Linked DNA regions of Homo sapiens: region 2 is linked to region 1. The links are contacts of gene promoters, found by promoter capture Hi-C in blood cells and fetal thymus (Javierre and others, 2016). All regions are on one chromosome and are shown on one strand. Each heading gives the region's core, a stretch centred on a gene start or on the middle of the fragment in contact. The rest is flanking DNA. Distances are from core to core; before and after follow the strand shown. Region 1 holds the start of TERF1 (telomeric repeat binding factor 1). Region 2 overlaps LOC107986891 (a long non-coding RNA gene).

Region 1 (2,700 bases), core at 17-2,516:
GTAATTTTAGCGCCAACTATGAATGAAGTACCAGAACATCTTTCTGTTGTTTTTCAAAAAGCTACACTAGGCCAGGCGCGGTGGCTCATACCTGTAATCTTACAGCTGCGGGTGGTGGTGCACGCCTGCAGACCCAGCTACTCCAGAAGCTGAAGCGGGAGGATACCTGAGCCTGAGGAGGTCGAGCCTGCAGTGAGCTGTGATGGCGCCACTACACTCTCCAGCCTGGGTGACAGTGAGACCCCATCTTGGGACGGGGGCGGGGTGCAGCAGATTTCATGAACAGTTTCATTCATTCATTTATTTATTCATACAGGGTATCACTCTGTTACCCAGGCAGGACTGTAGTGGCACGATCTCGACTCACTGCAACCTCTGCCTCTTGGGTTCAAGCGATCCTCCCACCTCAGGCTCCCAAGTAGCTGGGACTTGCAGGCATGTGGCCAACATTTACTTTTATTCTGAGACTACACAGAATAAAAGTAACTGCTGTAGAGCCAGCAGGCCAAATGAGATTTAATAGCTCACAAATTAACATAAAACACTGATGCCTCGGGGGTTACTGGAGGCCACAGGGACTGCTGAATATTACTACAGGAATACCTGAGTAGAAAGCGCCAAAAGAGACAAAGGTACTGGGTTGAGTGGAACTGTATACATTTTAACTCATTTAATGCTTGCATCAAACCTAAACAGGGTCTTATTTTCATTTTATCGAAGAGGAAATCAATCTGAGAAAAACTCAGGTGCTGACAACGGGCGAACCGGGATTCGAACAAAGTTCAGCCCGGAGCCTCGGACTCCCAGCTAATCGGCCGCAGCAGCCCCTCCCTCGGCGACGTAGGGAACCAGCCCTCTGCCGCGCACCACGGAGCCCGCATCCGCCCCCCGCGTAGTCCCGGCCCGGACGCGGTCTGCACTCACCCTCTGCGCTGTTGCGGGTCCTGCGGAAGTCCTCGGAGCGGCCGTCGCGGAAAGCTCGGCAAAGAGAGAGGCAGAGGAAATCGAGCATCCAGCCGGCAGCCACGGCCTCGGCCTCGGCCACCAGGCCCGCGTCCTCCTCCTCCTCCTCCTCCTCCTCGGGGGCCCCCACCTGCACCTGGCACTCGAGCAGTTCCTGGCATTCGAACTGCTCCTCGTCGTTTCTCTCTGTTTCTGCCATCTGCTCCTCAGTAGGGTCGGCATCCCTACCATCCGCACAGCCCCGCGGGCTCGGGGCCGCTGAGGAAACATCCTCCGCCATGTTAAATGGCTCGCTTGGGTACTGCCCCTTCAGGCGCCGAGCAACGATTGGCTCGCATTCGAGGGCTCGGGGCGTGGCCGCGGAGAGTCTCTTCCGCCGGCGGGACATGGGCGAGCGGTTCAAGCCTGGCTTCTGATTGGCCGACACCTGTTCCGGCTTCTGATTGGCCGACACCTGTTCCTGCCTCTGGGCGTTGAATTTGCCGCCAGTCTAGGGCAGGGCTTTGTAGGTAAACCGGACGACTCCATACTGAGCGAGGAGCGAGATTAGGATAGGAGGAGGCAGCTTTATCTTCCTTATTCCTTGTAAAATGCAACCTTGACTGGAACAACAACACGGTTATTTAAAATGAAAACGCATTTGCCTGCAGCCTATTTCAGAAAGAGATGGGTAATGAGAACTTGTCACTATTAGACAAGCGTAACACTTTTAAACCCTAGTTTTCATCTAACAGTTACTACGTGATCACGAACAACAACTATTACAACTGACAATATCCATGCTTCTCCAACCTTAAGATGCATCAGAATCAGCCTGGGGGCTTGCTAAAACACAAATTGCCGGGCTCCACTCCCAGAATTCCTGTTCTGCTGGTCTAGCTTGGGATCCTTGAATTTGAAAGTCCAACGCTACTTGGCTGGGCACCACATTTTGAGATCAGTGCTCTAGAAAGAGTATACTATAATGGAAATGTATCTCAATCAAGGTTTGAGATCGACTATAGAATGCAGTTTGTAGAAAACAAGTGAATGCTTATTTTGAATTTTGAAACTTAGCACAAAAAGAAATTCTAAATGGGGATGGGTGGTCTGGTTATTGTTTTTGTTTTTTGTTTGTTTTTTTTTTTTCCTTTGAGACAGGATTTCGCTCTGTTGCTCAGGCTGGTCTCCAACTCCTGGCTTCAAGTTATCCTCCTGCCAAAGTGCTGGGTTTACAGGCCTGAGCCACAACGCCTGGCTCCGTTTTCTGTTCCTTGATGTGGGTTCACTTTATGAAAATTCACTGAACATCGTTTATGCACTTTTCAGTATGTGTGTCATAATTGAATAAAAAGTTTATTTTAAAAGCCTTTCTGTTTATAACGCATCCAGCATCATCAAAGCCTTTCCACATTTTCACACACTTCTTGTTATTGTCTTTAAGGTGGTACAGTTTAAGTGTTGAGTAACTAAGGCACTGTATTCTAGTATTAAGAATGCTTAGGTTGGAATATTCCCTACCAGTTACTCACTAGCTGTGTGACCTTGGGTAAATTACGTGTCAGTTTTCTTGTCCGTATAATGTGAATAATAATAATACCTGCACGATTAAAGGGCTTGGTAAATGTAAAGAGTTTAAAACAGCCGGGCGCAGTGGCTCACACCTGTAATCCCAGCACTTTGGGAGGCTGAGGCGGGCGGATCACCTGAGGTCAGGAGTTCGAGACCAGCCTCAACATGGAGAAACCTCGTCTCTAC
Region 2 (2,700 bases), core at 103-2,602, 170 kb before region 1:
CTAGATTTTCCTGTTGATATCATTTTGAAGGCATTTCCTTTACTCATCACTCTTTATGTTTCTTTGGGCATTTTGTTTGTATGTTTGTTTGCTGAATCATATGAAAGTAATATGCAAATAGCATGACACCTCACTGCTAAACACTTCAGCACGTATCTTTTAAGAATAAGAACATTCTTCTAGGGTATAGTATTATCACACCCAAGAAATTTAATATCAATATCCTAATATCTAATAAACAGATCAAATTTCAAATTTCTATTGGAATATATATATTTTATATATAACATATATATTATATATAATATATAATTCAGAACAGGTTTTTCATATCCAAAGGGGCAAATAAAAGGAAAGGCTAGGGAAACAAGCTACTGAGGTTATCTTCCCTTTAGAAATCAAAGGAATGAGAGTAAATAAGTTAATTTAAAATATATATATATAGCATATATTTTAAATTCTTTTTTAAAGGTGCTGTATTACAAACATTGTTGAAGGTACACAGGATGATATTGTGCAGGAAAAATACAGACACCAAAGACAGTCTAAAAATGATTCAGAAGAATCAGACATTGAATTTGAAGAAGTTTTAGGAATTATTGCAGCCATTTTATTTCAGTTATATTTTTCTTTTCATTTATGTACAAGCTTGATGTAGAATAAAATCTATGTCAAAATAAGTGTAAAATGATTAAAAGTCAAAGTGAAAGGAAAGCATTATGATGCAGTGTAATTGGCATAAATGTTTCTTCTTTGTGGTACATAAAATAATGGCACGACTTACATATGATAAAATACTCTAGGCAGCTGGGGCTTCAGTGACAAGGAGAAAATATGCCGGGACACGAACTCAGCCGTGCATCCTGGAGTGTAACTGCATGGCTGGCTCCCTCTCCAGCATCTATTTGGCTGGAAACAGCCTGACCGACTCTCACTCTCTTTCTCCCTCTTCAGGATGCCAGGCAGGCATCTGTAGCCTCTGTCTGTTGCAGAAGACCAGAACATGTCACCCTAAGATACGCCACTTTGGCATAAAAGTTATTTTGAGCTGAAGGCAATCGAGAAGAAGCAGATATAAGAAAAGGTCTCTGCTCTACCCCATTAGCCTAAAAGCAAGACATAAATTTACCAAGACTATGATGTCCATCGTTACCTCTCTACCAGAAAGAACAAAGGTTGTTCACTGAAGGCAACTTTAGATCCTTCTCATCCTGGAGATGGCACCGAAGAATCCACATGACAAATTCCCATTTCCTCGCCTTCCCTCAATTTGCTAACCCTAGAGACTCACAGTACTTTTCCTTTGGTTACTTCTCTAACAATTTGCTCTTCTTTGTTAAAAATGCCATATAAAACCAGAGTTCTAAGATACTTTGAGAATTTCTCATTTCCTGGGATCTCCTATGTATATATGAAATATACATGCTAATAAATTTGTTTGTTTTTCTCTTGTTAATCTGTCTTTTGCTACAGGGGTCCATCCGAGCTACAAACTCAGAAAGGTAGAGAAAAAATTATTTTTCTTCCCTTACACTGTGGTCATATTCTATCTTCAGATGGGTTGCAATACAAGTAATTTAAGTTCCTCTTTCTCTCTGGGTGGACAAATCCCCTTAGATATTCCTAAGCCATATCTGAGCCCATCTTTAGGCAGACATTTTCTGAGCTTTCTCAGCTGGCTAATCACAGACATTGCGGGTTTATCTTCCAACCACCATCTGCTCCTGCAGGGCAATCGGATTTCTGCTTTCAAGGATCACCTTCCTTGTCACCTTCTAAGTACTGGCTATAGGTGCATCTTTGCCTACTTGCCCTGGATTCCACTCTGCAAAAGTGAGTATTGTTGAAGTTAACTGGTCTCTCTCAGCTTGTCCCAACAGATAGACTCAGAGAACCCCTAAGCATTTGGTCTCCTGTTCAGGGAAAATTTAGAAATAGATGGCGTTGCCATTGACATCTTTTCACCTCCCACCACCATATGATTTCTCCTTCTCTTCTCCAGAAACTCCAAAAGCATTTCTCATTCTTTTTTTCTTTCTATCTAATACCAAGCTTCCTACCCTTGGAAAAAGTTTTCTGCTTAATTAACCCATGCACAGGGATGAATGATTCCTTTCTCTTTGTGGTTTGGAACATAGACTGTAGAGAAAGGGGAGGGAAGAAAGGTTTTGTTTTCTGTAAATACTCAGAAACCCTATAAACCCTTGCCAGAAAAGTGGGAACATTTTCTTGCTTGATAGATTCAGGGTTCTTTAGAGGGACCTCAAGAGCTGCTTAACCAAATACCTACCATTTGAGTGTGTAAATGCTTGCTTTCATTGAGTAAAGTAACATTAAATAAAGGCATTTAATTAAAAATTTTTAAAATCAATTTGAGTGGGTTGTATAGTTATTGTTTTTGGTTTTCTAGCAAGTTTTCTCCTGTTTCCCTTCTTTTGGAAGTGGACTCCCATGCCTGGTCATAAAGGCATGGATTCATGGCCTGGGTCAGCAAATCAGAGAATCCCATTTCCCTGGAGCTCGACCCAGCTGTGGCCAATAAAAATCCTCCTGTGGGAATCAGTCACGTTTCCAGGATGGTAGGAAAGAGACGCTGTCTTTTCAAGAAGCTTGCTGAATTTGGATGGTGTAGATCTGGGGATGCCAGCAATCACTTTCTTTCTCTCTCTCTCTCTCTCTCTCTCTCTCTGTGTGTGTGTG

The links. Contacts are between HindIII fragments. The CHiCAGO score rates a contact against its expected background, and 5 or more counts as called.
Region 2: a contact is called between a fragment that was not itself captured here and the fragment with the promoter of TERF1 in region 1, in 1 of 17 cell types (naive B cells). The highest score is 6.1, in naive B cells.

Annotation. Positions count from the first base shown.
Region 1 is chr8:73,007,430-73,010,129 of GRCh38, reverse strand. TERF1 (telomeric repeat binding factor 1) reads right to left here and starts at 1,266. Exons shown (of 10, transcript NM_017489.3): 1 at 925-1,266. The coding sequence starts at 1,243. RefSeq lists silencers at 1,321-1,370, 1,401-1,500. The HindIII fragment of the contact is 9,695 bases long and covers 1-2,700 here.
Region 2 is chr8:73,180,429-73,183,128 of GRCh38, reverse strand. The region is part of intron 2 of LOC107986891 (a long non-coding RNA gene); the gene reads left to right. Among named protein-coding and RNA genes, the nearest start is that of C8orf89, 78 kb to the left of the region's middle. The HindIII fragment of the contact is 1,404 bases long and covers 651-2,054 here.